Linked DNA regions of Homo sapiens: region 2 is linked to region 1. Evidence: promoter capture Hi-C in 16 types of primary human blood cells and fetal thymus (Javierre and others, 2016). All regions are on one chromosome and are shown on one strand. Each heading gives the region's core, a stretch centred on a gene start or on the middle of the fragment in contact. The rest is flanking DNA. Distances are from core to core; before and after follow the strand shown. Region 1 holds the start of CHN2-AS1 (CHN2 antisense RNA 1). Region 2 overlaps CHN2 (chimerin 2).

Evidence for each region. Contacts are between HindIII fragments. The CHiCAGO score rates a contact against its expected background, and 5 or more counts as called.
Region 2: a fragment that was not itself captured here is called in contact with the fragment with the promoter of CHN2-AS1 in region 1 in 6 of 17 cell types (total CD8 T cells, naive CD8 T cells, M2 macrophages and 3 more); the score reaches 9.6 in total CD8 T cells.

The regions. Positions count from the first base shown.
Region 1 is chr7:29,206,047-29,213,574 of GRCh38, forward strand. CHN2-AS1 (CHN2 antisense RNA 1) reads right to left here and starts at 2,924. Exons shown (of 3, transcript NR_120522.1): 1 at 2,767-2,924. All of the region lies in intron 1 of CHN2 (chimerin 2), which reads left to right. It also overlaps the pseudogene NANOGP4. The HindIII fragment of the contact is 4,492 bases long and covers 1-3,297 here.
Region 2 is chr7:29,406,251-29,413,778 of GRCh38, forward strand. The region is part of intron 6 of CHN2 (chimerin 2); the gene reads left to right. Among named protein-coding and RNA genes, the nearest start is that of PRR15-DT, 150 kb to the right of the region's middle. The HindIII fragment of the contact is 5,269 bases long and covers 518-5,786 here.

The DNA.
Region 1 (7,528 bases), core at 1,674-4,173:
AAAATAATTTTATCATGTATCACTAAAATACCGGCTTCACAAGGGCAGCTATTTTTGTTTTGTTCACTGCTGGATCTCCAGTGCCTAGCACAGTGTCTGACATATACAAGCACTCAGTTACTGTCATAGGAGTGCAACTGTAGCCCCTTCCCTCCTTTATCTCTTGTTTGTAAATCAGTTCTGCAAGGACCCTGTCACCAGTTCACATTAGTCACAGGCCTTCAGTAACTTTTAGAAAAAAATTTTTTTCCCCCAAGATGGAAAAAACTCTATCGCCCAGGCTGGAGTGCAGTGGCATGATCTTAGCTCACTGCACCCTGCGCTTCCTGGGTTCAAGGATTTCTCCTGCCTCAGCCTCCTGAGTAGCTGGGATTACAGGTGCGTGCCACCACACCCAGCTAATTTTTGTATTTTTAGTAGAGACAAGGTTTCACCATGTTGGCCAGGCTGGTCTCAAACTCCTGACCTCGTGATCCACCTGCATCGGCCTCCCAGAGTGCTGGGATTACAAGTGTGAGCCACCGCGCCTGGCCTAGAAATTTTTTTTTTAACTTATTTGCATGTACTTGCAACAGGAGACTCTGAGCAGAATCACATGAATTTATCTGAATCAGGACTTTTTACCTTGATTTGTGGTTCACAAGCACATTTCAGGAGTGAATAGTGAACACTGAAGAAACATAAGTAGTAAAGCTAGAGTTCAACATGGAGAGCCACAGGGAGATTCTCAAAAAGCGATGCTGTATACATGCTACACCAGGGATGAGCCTGGAAAACAGTATGTTAAGTGAAAGAAGTGAAAGACTGCATACTATATGATTCCACGCATATGGAACACTCAAGATAGGCAAATCCTAGAGACAGAAAGTAGATGAGTTGTCCCCTGCGGCTGAGAGGTTTGGAGTGAAATGGGGAGTGACTGCTAATAGGTATGAGTTCTTTTTGTGGTAACGAAATTGTTCTAAATTTGATTGTGGTAATACTTAATAGTTACACATATCTGTGAATAAACTAAAAGTCATTGAATTGTTTGCTTTTAAACAGGTAAATTGTAGGGTGTGCGATTTATAGCTCAATAAAGCCATTACTTTAAGAAAGCATAGAAATTGATATTGTAAGAAAGAGAAGGTGAATCAGTCATAACGTGAGCAAACAGAAAATACAAACCCATAGGTTAAGGCCTTCCTGGACAGGATGCTTGCAATCAGATGGGAGGCATTTCAATCCCTACTCACTGATAACTTGCTCAATACATGGGGGTGCCCCTTCTCTTCCCCTTTTCATTTCCACATTCATCTTTTTCTGCAGCCAGCCCCTGACCTTCTCAGATAGTTCCATAGAGACTTGCTCTCTAGGGCTGGTTAGTTCAGCCTCCACTAGATAAATGCCTCCCTTCCCCAGTATCCCCAAAAGGCCATGGCACCCTCCTTCTCACTGAAGAATGAGGGAGAGCAGTAGGTCCCCTCTGCTAATGCTGGACAAAGCAATTAGTGCATTTCTTATGACTAGTTAATTAGCTTTTTATCCAGCTTTTTAAACTCTGGCCACAACTCTATGGCCTCGAAGTAGAGTGTGAGTCATCCAGGAAGCAAGTTTCTCTACTGTGTGCCTGATGCTCCTGAGTATTATTCGCACAGTGATGTGTCTGTGGCTGCCTCCATATGCCCCCACTTAGATGGATGCTTGTACAGACGTTTCCAAGGATATCATCTGCTGGCTCTTTTGTTGTTTCTAATCAAAGAACCGACACCCTTTGATCACAACAGATCACGGTATTGTACTACAAAGACTTTGTTAGAAAGACTTAAATTTTACACGCTTGTAGCTGTCACAGAGGTTCTGACAGTATTTACTTTTACCCCACACAAGTAAAGAAAAAATGCATTTGATCAGATCACATGGAAAATATGAGTGATTATAAATAGTAAATTTTCTAGAACCATGTATTGTTCACTGTAAGGAACCTAGTCAATGAACATTTTTTAATACTTGCTGGTTTTGAGTGCCAGGTTGTTGCAAAAGTCCTCTTCTTCCTCCCAAGTATAGAGACTCCTCTAGGTAGATAAACTTTCTGTTAATTGGAGGAAGATTGGCCCTGTCATGGAATTAATGAAGCTAAAGACAGACGTCTTTGGGGAACTGAGTCCCTGGGTAGCCACTTTTTGGGCAGGCTTCAGTATCCAATGGCCTGCGTGAATGTATAGGATGGCTGGCTCCCCTTCAAGTTGTTCATGGCCTTTCCTCCTTTTTCCCATAGGACACCTGAGACAGGCACCCCCACAAAATACAAATAAATGCCCCTTCACGGGAGTGTGAAGACAAAGCAAGTACTAGAACTTCTTCCTTAAGGTCTCATTCAGAGTGTTTTCCTGGCAACCCCTAGAGGAAGTGGGCACGGGCTACAGTGACTCTGTTGTTCTGTGTCTTCCCTCAGGTGAAATCTGGCCACCCTGGGCACCCTATGACAGCAGCACACGTGGGGATGATATTGTGCCTTGCGCTGGCCTCTGCGGTTCCCCTGACATATCAGATTTTAGACTTTGCTCCTCCTGCTTTCTAATGTCACGGGCTAAGCCATCTCTAACAAAAGACTCACTGTTCCTGGGACCTGCTGTTCACTCAAACTTTTCTCATGCTAACACCAACACATATAACACATTCACACCTCCTCACATCCTGACCAGACCATTCCAGGATGCAATTATTGTAAGGATTAGGACGTTTCACCGCAAATACAGAAAACTCTAAAACAAAGTGCTGAGGTACCGTGGTTGTAGACACTGCAGTATCTGGCTCTGTCTCCTTCTCTTAGCGCTGCCCTCTTGGTCGGGGGGCCTTGTCCTCAGCCTCACTGTCTTTACAGGGTCAAGATGACAATAGCAGTCCCCTGGGATCATATCTGAAACAGAGAAGGGGAAATCTCTTCCTCCTCACCCTGTGGAAGATAAAAAAGACTTTCTCAGACACACCTGCCCCACCCCCACCCCCCAGCAAAGTTCCCCTTGCCTCATTGGCTACAGCTTTGTCATATGCTTAGGTGTGAACCAATCACTGGCAAGGGAATAGGATTCCCTGGATGTACTTAGTCCAGTTGTGACCCCCTTCCTGGAGTGCAGATGGTCCAGCCTCTCCTGAAGGGGTGAGGAGGCCTGAACGGAACAGGGTTCTGTTAAGGGGGAAGAGGGAACCAAGAACATCCGCCACAATTATGTCATGAATGTCCTCAGCCCTTAGAGTCTCTAAGGCCACCAACAAAACACTGAGAATTCCAAGACGCATGGCCTCTCATAGTCAAAAAGCTTATTATAGTCTTAGTTGAGAGCCAAGCAATTAGTGCAACTATTCACTTAGTAATAATATCACTCCCTGAAAAAAATGTTCTGCTAACCTACTACATTAAGATGACTGACAACTCATATGTTGTTTTCACTTGTTAGTGCTTTATGGTTTGAAGCACTTTGTTTTATGGTTATGAAAAAAATATAAATCCATTAATTTAAAACTGGATAGAGTCTTTAGCTCTAATGAGAAGTAGGACAGTGAGGGTTGAAGGTTTTGATTCTTGACAGGCTTTAACATCCCTGCGCCTGATGTAAGTTGGAACTATATTATTAGAAAGGCAGGGAATAATAGTAGATGATTCAGCCCACTGCCGCTTGCTATGGGAGGGAATTTTTAAGGCTTTCATTTATGAGAAATAGTGATCATTAGCAGTTCTTTGTTTTTAAAACAGAGATTCCTACAAACGGTCAAGTCCAGTGGAATAAATGTATTGGTGCCTAATTGGAGAAATAATTTCAGGTTATTCCCAAGGAAAAGGGAACAGGCAGAGGGTTTTGGAGAGCAGATTCCTGTTTTTCAGTTTTGTGATGGGCCAGGGTGCGTAAAGATCACTGGATGAGGGGTCACGTGACCTAAGTCTATGGTAGTTCTTTCTCAGCATTTACTTTTTGTGTGTCCAGGGGCAAATTATGTTATCATTTTGTGACTTTGATGCTTATGTGTAGAATTATTAGTTTGGCCCAGATCATCTCTGAGGGTCTTAAAATTTTATGATTTTTCTGATCTGCCTGTTTCCTCTTGCCAATTTATGGTGCCTTGGTGGTCCCCCAAGGGAACAACCCTCTTGTGTGTAAATCAGTTACACTCACATATACACATATTTCAAATAGCAATTACCAGTGGCATCATTTGTTCCAGGCACCCAGCCTGTAAGACATGAGGACTGTTGGGTGTCTGTACCGTAATTGCTTTTCAGTCTTCACTCTTAGTAAGCCCAGAGGTAGTCCAAGTATGCTCCAAGGCGGTATCATACAAGCCTTTTGGAATGTGACCTACACTATGAAACCCAGCACGTACACACACAGGCACACACACACACCCCACACACACACCGTGCACACACCAATACTTCATTCCATATGTACTTATTATTTACCATGTTCCAGATTTTAGAGATACTGCAATGAACAAAACAGACAAAAATTCTGGACCTTGTGGAATTTCTAAATACAGACAGACAATAAACCAAAGGAACTATATATAATTTGTATATATAAATGTGTATCTTATATATATAATTATATCTAATTATTAATTTATATGGTATATTAGAGGGTGATAAGTTCTATGGAGAAAAATAAAGCAGGAAGGGAGACAGGAAATGCTGGGGGTAAGGGGGTCTGAGTGTTAAGTTTAGTGGTCAGAGAAGGCTTTACTGAGAAGGTGACACTTGATGGTGAGGGAGCCAGCCATGCAGATATTTGGAGAAAGTACATTCCAGACAGAAGGAACCGCAGCTGCAGAGTCCCAATGCGAGAGTGTACCTGGTGTGTTCCAGGAACAGAAACAAGGCCAGTAGAGTGAGAAAGGGGTAAATAGGACTGGCAGGGAGGAGGAGGCGGATCATGGAGGGCCTCGTAGGCCGCCCTAAGGACTTTGGCTTTTACACTGAGATAGGTTGTCCCTGGAGGGTTCTAGAAGACAGTGGCATGATCTGACTTAGGTGTTTTGTTTTTTTTTTTGTTGTTGTTGTTGTTGTTGAGACGGAGTCTCGCTCTATCGCCCAGGCTGGAGTGCAGTGGCGCGATCTCGGCTCACTGCAAGCTCCGCCTCCCGGGTTCACGCCATTCTCCTGCCTCAGCCTCCTGAGGAGCTGGGACTAAAGGCGCCTGCCACCATGCCCAGCTAATTTTTTGTATTTTTTTTTTTTTAGTAGAGATGGGGTTTCACCATGTTAGCCGGGATGGTCTCGATCTCCTGACCTCGTGATCCGCCTGCCTCAGCCTCCCAAAGTGCTGGGATTACAGGCGTGAGCCACCGCGCCCGGCCCTGACTGAGGTTTTAACAGATCCATTCTGGCTATTATGTTGAGATTAGACTAAACACAAATGCTGCATGTTGGCACACACACACACACACACACACACACACACACACACACACACAGAAACAGAAGTTCCACAAAGAGAGTTCATCCTGTTATATATGATGTGCTCTGAGACTGTCTTTTCTATTGTATTTCTCTTCATTTATCTAAAAACTATCAGGGCCCACAAGTTGATTTCAGAATCCACTCTAGAGTGGTGATGGGCACTTTGGAAAACAGATTAGAAATTGGTCCAGAACTCCAAAGATGTAGCAGATTCAGTTAGCCTGCTCAAGGCATGGTTGCGGTATACAGAACACCCTATAGGCCCATAGTACTATTTAATCATAATGTTCAAGGAGATTTTGTTAATTTTTTTAACTTGCTACACTGCGTAGCACTATTTTATTGAATGATCATTTAAAAGTTTCGTCTTTCCCTACAGTGGGCTTTTATTACAAATGTATATTTTAATAACTTTTTATAAAGAACATTTCAAATATATTTAGAGTAAAGAGAAAACTATAACGAACCTCTTACCATCCAACTTCAACAATGATCGCATCATAGCCTGGTTTCACTTCCACTCCATCCCATACCCAGGATTATTTTGAAGCAAATCCCAGGCTTGGCATCATTTCATCTGTAAATATTTCAGATGGTATCTCTAAAAGATAGGGACTCTTTTTTAAAAAAAGAATGCTGGGCTGGACTGAGCTAGTTACCTCCTGCTATTGTGGAGGCAACTCACTTCATCCCAACTTCTTGATACTTTTGCTTCTGGAAGTCATATTTCTCTAACATCTTCCAGAAAAGTCTTAAAGCTGCCTTAACCTTTTTTCCAGTCCACCTCTTAAATTTTTTCCCCCTCTTCCTCAATACTAACATGAGTGTGGATCTGGCTTGTCTGCAAAGCTTGCCTTGCTTCGAAGCATCCGACTGTAAAGAATCTTAACCTATGGCTGTGATTTGTGGGCCTGAAGAAAACTATCCATCCTTGCAAATGTCTTCTGCTGAGATGCCTCACACGGAGACTGTCTCTCCTCTTCTTCCTCCATGGATCTGCTTATTCAGGACAGCCCTGATTCTTCCACCAGTCCCAAAGGCAAACAACCCATTGCTGCAGAGAATAATGCCCCAAAAAAGGGAGACGAGGTCCCAGTCAAGAAACAGAAGACCAGAACTGTGTTTTCTTCCACCCAGCTGTGTGTACTCAATGATAGATTTCAGAGACAGAAATACCTTAGCCTCCAGCAGATGCAAGAACTCTCCAATATCTGGAACCTCAGCTACAAACAGGTGAAGACCTGGTTCTAGAACCAGAGAATGAAATCTAAGAGGTGGCAGAAAAACAACTGGCCGAAGAATAGCAATGGTGTGACTCGGAAGGCCTCAGCACCTACCTACCCCAGCCACTACTCTTCCTACCACCAGGGATGACTGGTGACCTGACTGGGAACCTTCCAATGTGGAGCAACCAGACCTGGAACAATTCATCCTGGAGCAACCAGACCCAGAACATCTAGTGCTGGAGCAACCACTCCTGGAACACTCAGACCTGGTGCACCCAGTCCTGGAACAATCAGGCCTGGAACAGTCCCTTCTATAACTGTGGAGAGGAATCTCTGCAGTCCTGCATGCAGTTCCAGCCAAATTCACCTTCCAGTGACTTGGAGGCTGCCTTGGAAGCTGCAGGGGAAGGCCTTAATGTAATAAGCAAATGACTAGGTATTTTAGTACTCCACAAACCATGGATTTATTCCTAAACTACTCCACGAACACGCAACCTGAAGATGTGTGAAGATGAGTGAAATTGATATTACTCAGTTTCACTCTGGGTAGTGGCTGAATCCTTCCTCTCCCCTCCTCCCCTCCCTGATAGGATTTTTCTTGTATGGAAACCATGTGTTCTGGCTTCCATTATGCCTATCCAGTCAATTTGATGGAGGATACAGTATGGTTGGAGCCTAATCAGAGAGGTTTCTTTCTTTTTTTCCTATTGGATCTTCCGGAGAAAAGACGTTTTAATAACCTTGGCTACTAAGGACAACATGATAGAAGCTGTCTCTGGCTATAGATAAGTAGATCTAATACTAGTTTGAATATCTTCAGGGTTTAGAATCTAACCTCAAGAATAAGAAATACAAGTACAAATTTGTG
Region 2 (7,528 bases), core at 1,902-4,401, 200 kb after region 1:
GAGGAGGAGAAGCTGGGCAGGTAAATAGAGGAGGAGAGAGGCTGGTATATGCACGTTGTGGAGCTGATCACCTTCTCAGGAGCCGGGTAGAACTGCTTCTAAGAGGAATTGAAGTGGGAGTGTTTAACGCATCACCTCCTGTCCCCTCTTGGTTGAGGGGTACCTGTGAGCTGTTAACATTCTCCCCAGTTCCAGGCCAGGCATGCTGGAGAGCTAGGTGGGTGCCATGGGCATCCCTGGCAGCCTGTGGAGTCCAGTGCAGCTGTCCTTTTCTACTATTGAATAGAACCTGCCACACTCAGCCTCCCCTCCCCTCCCCGCCCTGGCATGCTGCACACCACCTTTATGAGAGTTCATCACCCTGTGTCCAGCGTCATTGTTTTGATCAGTGGTTCTCAAAGCATGGCCCTCGGGAACCAGCAGCATCAACATCAGCTGGGAGGCTGGTTAGAAATGCACGTTCCCAGGAGCCACTGTGTGGGGGACTCTGGGGTGCCCTCCGCCAATGTGTGTTTTAAGCTTTAGGCAGTTCTGATTCCCACCTGCATTTAAAAATCTGTGGTTTCTATGTCTGTCTCTTTCCCCAGAGGTGGATCAGTGGGAGGCAGAGGCTACTCCTCAGCCTACTTCCTAATTCTAACGCCCTCCACCTCACTCGGTGAAGCAAGCACTGATTGAATGAAAAATGGATGGGTGACTTTTAAAATGTAACACATTGCCCCACATTCACCCTAAGGAACAGCGTATCTCAAATTCACCAAGAGGGTGCCTCAGCATCTCCCGCACCGTCTCTCAGCACGTGCTCCTTCCTTCACTGGGCTAAGATCTGGCCACCAACTCCTTGTAGCATCAGGAGCAGCAGGAGTCTGGAGAAGCAGGGGAATCGTGGAGACCATCTCATGCAACCCTTCTGTTTTGCAGGACAGGAAACTGAGGCACCCGGCTCAATAGCTTAGAAAGTATTTCAGTGACACCAAGGAGGCTTGGATAGAAAAGGATGCTTTTCAGCAGCTATCTTAGAGTTAAGATTGTTGAGGCCTTTTTTTTGGATGGGATCCACAACTGTGCCACTGTGGAGGGGGTCTTGGTCCTAGGGGGTGGAGAGGCTTGGTGACTTCATTCAGGACAGTAGATTCAAACATAGTGTTACCCATTGTCCTTCACCAAGCAGAGGCGTGCATTCATTTGCCAAAGAAAGAACCTGAATTGTTAATGCAGAAAGCATTATGGAGCTGGAAAAGATCACTTGCATTACAGGGTCTAAAGAACCTATAGATTTTCTCTGCAGGAGGTTCTTTGGAAATAACATGTAACTGACATACCCAGTCTTTTCTCAGGATTCAAGGGTAAATGAAGATGAGCATAACTTAGCTATTATAGTAGGTGACAGGTACCCTGATGATGCTGACCAGCCGACTTGCTGCCCTTGCACGCAGTCATAAAATGGGGTGGGATAGGATGCAGTGAGAATGGATTTAACTTAGATTACATCCGCTCATGAGACTGGGTTTTGCCAAGCATTGTTTTAAACCAGAATTCCCTAATGATTTGGGATTTATCACTCAGTCTGAGCAATTGCTGATTTGGTTGGCTTGGTGGTTCTCAAACTGACTGAAGGTTGGACTCACTCTGGGAGCTTTTAAAAAAATGCCCATGGCCGGGCTTGGTGGCTCATGCCTGTAATCCCAGCACTTTGGGTGGCAGAGGCTGGCGGATCACTTGAGGTCAGGAGTTCAAGACCAGCCTGGCCAACATGGTGAAACCCCATCTCTACTAAAAATACAAAAAAATTAGCCAGGCACTGTGGCACATGCCTGTAATCCCAGCTACTCTGGAGGCTGAGACAGGAGAATCACCCGAACTCAGAAGGCGGAGGTTGTAGTGAGCCCAGATCACACCACTGCACTCCAGCCTGGACGGCGGAGTGAGACTCAGTATCAAAAAAAAAAAATAAATTAAATTAAAAAATATATATTAAAAATGCCCATGTTTGACCCCACCTGCCTATGGAATCAAAGTCTTCACTGGTGAAAGGCACCTGTCGGTCTTTTTTGGCTCCTCAGGTGATTGTCAAGTGCAGGGCTTGAGAACCTGGGTTAGATGGAAGGGGAGACGAGAGTAAAGGTGATCAGACATTTTGGAGCATTTTCTTTCAAGGACACCTGTCTCACTTCTTCCCATGCCTCTTATATTCCTGAGGCTCTTTTATGTTGTAAATTAGACCCTAGCCTTCTTTCTCTACTTTTACACAACACGTGAGAAGTCCTCTGGGGAAACATTCTTCACACAGTTAACTCTGGTGGCTACAGTTACCTGTGCTGGTTCAGGGTTTGGCTTTGCTCCCTTTCCATGACTCCTTTCCCGAGATTATTGCCTGAAATATAAATGATGGGAAACAATTAACTGAAGTGGGATTAAAGAATTTAATGAAGGGGCAAGGAAAAGTTAGTCCCTCTCTCAGGGGTCAGCTAGTGGTTTCTTTGGGTGGATATTAGAAAGAATCTCTTTTTACCAGTTCCTCAATATCGGTGTTTTCAAAGAGGAACGGAAGAGGAAAGTCATCCTAATACATTCAGCGTATGGAGGGATATGATGGGCCAAACGCCAAACCCTCCTTGTCCCCATCCAAAATCTCTCTAGGAAACAGCTAATTTAGAGACACGGCTCCCGAGAAAGTATTTTCTATGCAAATAGTGCCATCTTGTGGCTGAAAGGAGAGTTACATGCTGATGACACAAAGGACCAAACCTAACGGATGTGAAAATGTGCAAGAACAAATTTTTCAGCAATGAATCCATTGAGTCATCCCACTTTCCTCAAGTTTTATAGCACAGATCAGGCTACACAGTGGCTTGGGGTGTCTGTTCTGTAGCCTGTGCTCCTTCTCTGCATAAGCACGTGGGCAGCTCTGCGGGCCTAGGACTTGTAAAAATCATCCCAGGAATCTAATTCTAGTCCAAAAGTGCTCAAACTTCTCGGCCTCAGGACCCCTCTATACTCTTTAAAGTTACTGAGGACCCCAAAGAGCTTCTGTTAATGTGGGTTAAATCTTGATATTTATGGTATTAGAAAGTAAAATAGAAAAATCTAAAATATTTATTAATTCTTTCAACATAATAGTAATAAACCTATTATGTGTTAGTATGAATAACATATTTTTGTGAAAAATAACACTGTTTTCCAAATAAAAAAGTGATGAGAATATTGGCATTGTTTTTACATTTTTGTAAATCTCTTTAGTGTCTGGCTTAAAAGAAGACAGCTGGCTTCTCACATCTGCTCCTGTATTCAACCTGGGATATATTGTTTTATTTGAAGTATAGGAAGAAGTCTGGCCTCACACAGATGTGTAGTTGGAAAAAAGAGGAGTGTTCTTATAGCCTTTTCAGGTAAATGTGGGCTTTAAAATATATACTAGACCACAATTCAACAAGTGGTAGTTTCTTAAAGGTTAGTTGCAATGTCAATCACAGAAGGCAATTACTGTAATAAAATCAGTTTTGACATCATGGACTCTCTAAAGGGATCTTGGGGATCCCCAAACATTGGTGGGCCACAGTTTGATGAAGAGCCCAGCTTTTCAAGATGTTTATATTTTGACATCTCCAGAGTGGTGTTTGAGAGGAATTGTCCCACCACTTTTATCACCTTTGACTGCAGGAGGTAAATGATGCTGTCACCTGGGACTGCTGTACACCTATGGGGACTGGGCAGGCTATGATGAGGAGGCATTCTTCTGGACCTGACCCACCAAGCGCCTGCCCTGAGCACGACCTCAGAGCTCTTCCCAGTGGCTCTCACTAGGCGGTGGGGGGACAACAGGCTGAGTCTATATGAGTTTTAATTTTAGGGATCCCTCTGGGGTTGTTGAATGTTTTTAATTTCATCGAGGCTTTTTAATCATGGGACTTTTAAATAATTTATTCTGGAAGAAAATTTTTATAATGTTTAAAACAGGGTAGTGTCTTGTTTATATTTTAGTTGGGCTTAATCGTAGGAACAGTGTTGGTAGATTTAGGGTGATTACTTTCATTTTTAAGGTGAAATTGAGCTGTTTTTGTCTTTTTAGTAATTATATGGTGGTTTTTGGCTGTGAGTAAAATATTAATGTTTGTTTATTAGTCTAGGTGGGATGATATGTTAAAAAGATAAAAGACAATAATTTGGATAAGTATTTAGGGTTCTCTTGATTAAAGGTTTTTTTTTAATTAAATAGGTTTGAGGTGAGAAATGGAGAGTATATTTGCATTATGTCTGTGGGTCATCTATTGGCACTTAGTTTTTTAATTGGTAAGCGTTGAAATAGAGACTCTTGTTTGAGGAGTCTTAGCCCCTCACCTAAATTGGGTATTTTGTTGAGTATGGGATGTGAGATTATACTTGACTTTTTTGATTTGTTTTTCTAATTAGGGGAGTTTGTCTTTTTTTGTATTTTTGTTTTTGAAGAAACTGGAGGGAAAAAGTTATAGGAGTTGATGAAAAAGTTGAAGGAGAGTGTTATTATTTTAGACCTTTGTAAGGGGAGAAAAAGTTGAAAGTAGTGAGACATAGTAAAAGTTGAACTTTTGATTTATAAATTTGAGAAGTTTTTAAAGAATGACTGTTACATATAATGCTCTAGTTATTTAAAATATTATCTAAAACTTTAAAAACACAGACTTTCCTCCTCAAATCCCTAAACTCTCCTCCCTTACTCCCTAGCCACATTAAAAATTCCCCATTTCTACTTTTTATTAAAACAAATTTTTAAAATCTTGCCTTCCCCACCTTCTTACTTTAATCAGATCAAATAAACATTTCTCTATCTCCAAACACCTGTGTATCACTATTTAACATCAACTACACACCAAGTACACAAACCTAAATTTAGACTTCAACACAAGCCTAGGGCCTGTGTCATCAGGAAACAGTTCTGCAGGTGCAATTCTGATATATATGGCCAATGAGGAGCCACCGACTGGGTCTCATTCTCTTCTCCGTACAGAGGAAATACCAAGACTCAAAGCTCAAAGTGACATTGAACAAGGAGGGTTGGAAGGAGGAAACACAATTTTAGCAGAGCCTATTATTTTCCTTCTTTGGCCTCGTACTGGGTATCACCCTCTTTGTTACCTCTCCTGGGCTTCTCCAGCTACCATCTTTGTGTCTATTTCATCAGGATGTGGCAGTCTCCCCACCCCACCCCCAGAGTGAGTAGCTGTCATTTTTGCCACCCAGAGCCACCTCAGTGTAGGAGCTTCTGGTGGAGTCATATCTGCCCACTAATCCCAGAGGTGGATTTGTGATTCAAGGCCAAGCCGAAGGACCCCGTGTCCCTGGCTAGGGTGGTTGGTTCAAGGGTGACCATGTGGTCAAGTCAGAGCCAGGGGAAGACAACAGACTTTTACCGTGAGTTCCAGGAGCCAGGCCTTTCACCCTCTTTCTGCTTGGCTCAATTAGGCAGGAAGTAGAGCCTGGGCTGCTGAAGGCTTCCCGCCACCCGATAGAGCCTGAGAATGGAGCCTGGAGAAAGTAGAGCCTGGAGATGGGGAGAGAGAAGCTGAGTCCTGAGGCCTGATCTGAGCTTCTCGCGGAGCTGCCCTTCAGCCCGCCCCCGTCTCTGGATGTTCCAGTACTGCTGGCAGTTCATTGCTGCCTTGCCTTTGAGCTGGGTAAGCAGATGTTGGTGCTGCATTTAAGTCGGCAGCTGCTATCATCCCCACAAGAACTGGAACCCACCTGTCAGCTCCCTGCCACCTCTGCTGTCCTTCATTCCCACTCACCTTACTTGTCACCATTACTGAGGAAGCTTAGCTATTCAAGTTCAGGTTCATTTTAATTTTAATCCAATAATCCACACTACCCTTCTTTAAAATGGTGGTGTTAAATCAGAAAAAGGGGACCTCTAGTGTTTACTGAAATGGGTAGGAATGTAGCATCTTGTTTACCAGGCAGACATGGGAAATAACCCAGAAGCCACTGCTGGAATGCAGCCGTCATCCTTTACCTCCTGGCTCCACAACATATATATATGTAGACCTCTTACAGTTAAATGCATTTCAGTAAGATTAAGGCGCTCTGCTAAAGAGTCTTTTTTTTTTTTTTTTTTTTTTTTTTTTGGGAGACGGAGTCTCCCTCTGTTTCCAGGCTGGAGTGCAGTGGTGCCATCTTGGCTGACTGCAACCTTCATCTCCCGGGTTCAAGTGATTCTTCTACCTCAGCCTCCCAAGTAGCTGAGACTACGGGCTCACACCACCACACCCAGCTAATTTTTGTATTTTTAGTAGAGACAGGTTTCACCATGTTGGCCACAACGGTCTCAATCTCTTGACCTCGTGATCCGCCCACCTTGGCTTCCCAAAGTGCTGGGATTACAGGCGTGAGCCACCGCGCCAGGACACTAAAGAGTCTTAATGAACCTGGTAAACCAGATTCTCAGCAACTTGTGATATTTCCGGGAAACTTTTTTAACAGAATGGGATGAAACATGGCCCCTTTTGCAGCATTGGATGTGGCCACGAGAGCCCTCTGTTGGAAGGGGTATCTCTCAGATCATTGGTACAACAGATGAGCAGTTGGGAACCTGTAGACTCTGAAGAAGGAAAGGTCAAAGTTCCATTTGTAGTCTTTCAGAATTAAAGGCTTGGCCTATAAGAATTTGTAGGGGTGGGTGGGTGGGGTCCTGGATCAACTGTGGGAAGAAGAAGGATTTTGTTCCCTGAATAATTCCCATTGCCGTTAATGGAAATGAAACTGTCAGGGCTACATTGGTTTGTTTTCATGGCCTCTGGACCAGGTTGCAGAACTGGCATTACTCATTTTGCAATAAAAAAATGTCTGGCCGGGTCTTATGATGATAGTTTATAAATGCCCCTGTTGGTTTTCTCTCTCCTTATACACAATCACTTTGAAGTTCCCGCAAAGTTAATATTTCACTTTGTTCCTAAGTCCCCATTTATGAACTTAATGAAGTCCAAGTATCAGAAGAGAAAGTTAAAGTTTACACATGCAACTTTGATTGTTCTCAAGTGACTCATTGGTTTAAAAAATTATTTAAAAAGTCAAAGCACTGTCATTTGCAAGAGACACTTTAATACCCAAGTTGAGGATTAGAAGTAAGACACAGAACTGTGGGCTATGCGTGTCCCAACACACCTTTAACAGAGTAAAAGCAGTTATATTTTACCACAGTACATATAAATTCCATGAAAATAATTCATGATATAAGGGACTTTTATTATGTTAATCTCAAATGATTTTAGGAAAGTTACAATTACTCCCCCTAGAAAGAACATTACATGTATTAAGCATATCATTGTTTTTAATCTATCATAAACTACATTATTTCATTCTGCTTCATGACAACCCTTAACTTCATTGTTCCTCCTCTTCCAACAAAGAAACAAGAAACCCGGGGCTTGGGAAAGCCAGGCGATTTGCCCAGGGTCGTAGAACTTGTGACTTGCGGGTCATTTCACGAACAGCCAGTTGCTAGAAGGTGGCTCGTCTGACTTCGAACAGGCTGTACTTTCCACTGGACCACATTGAC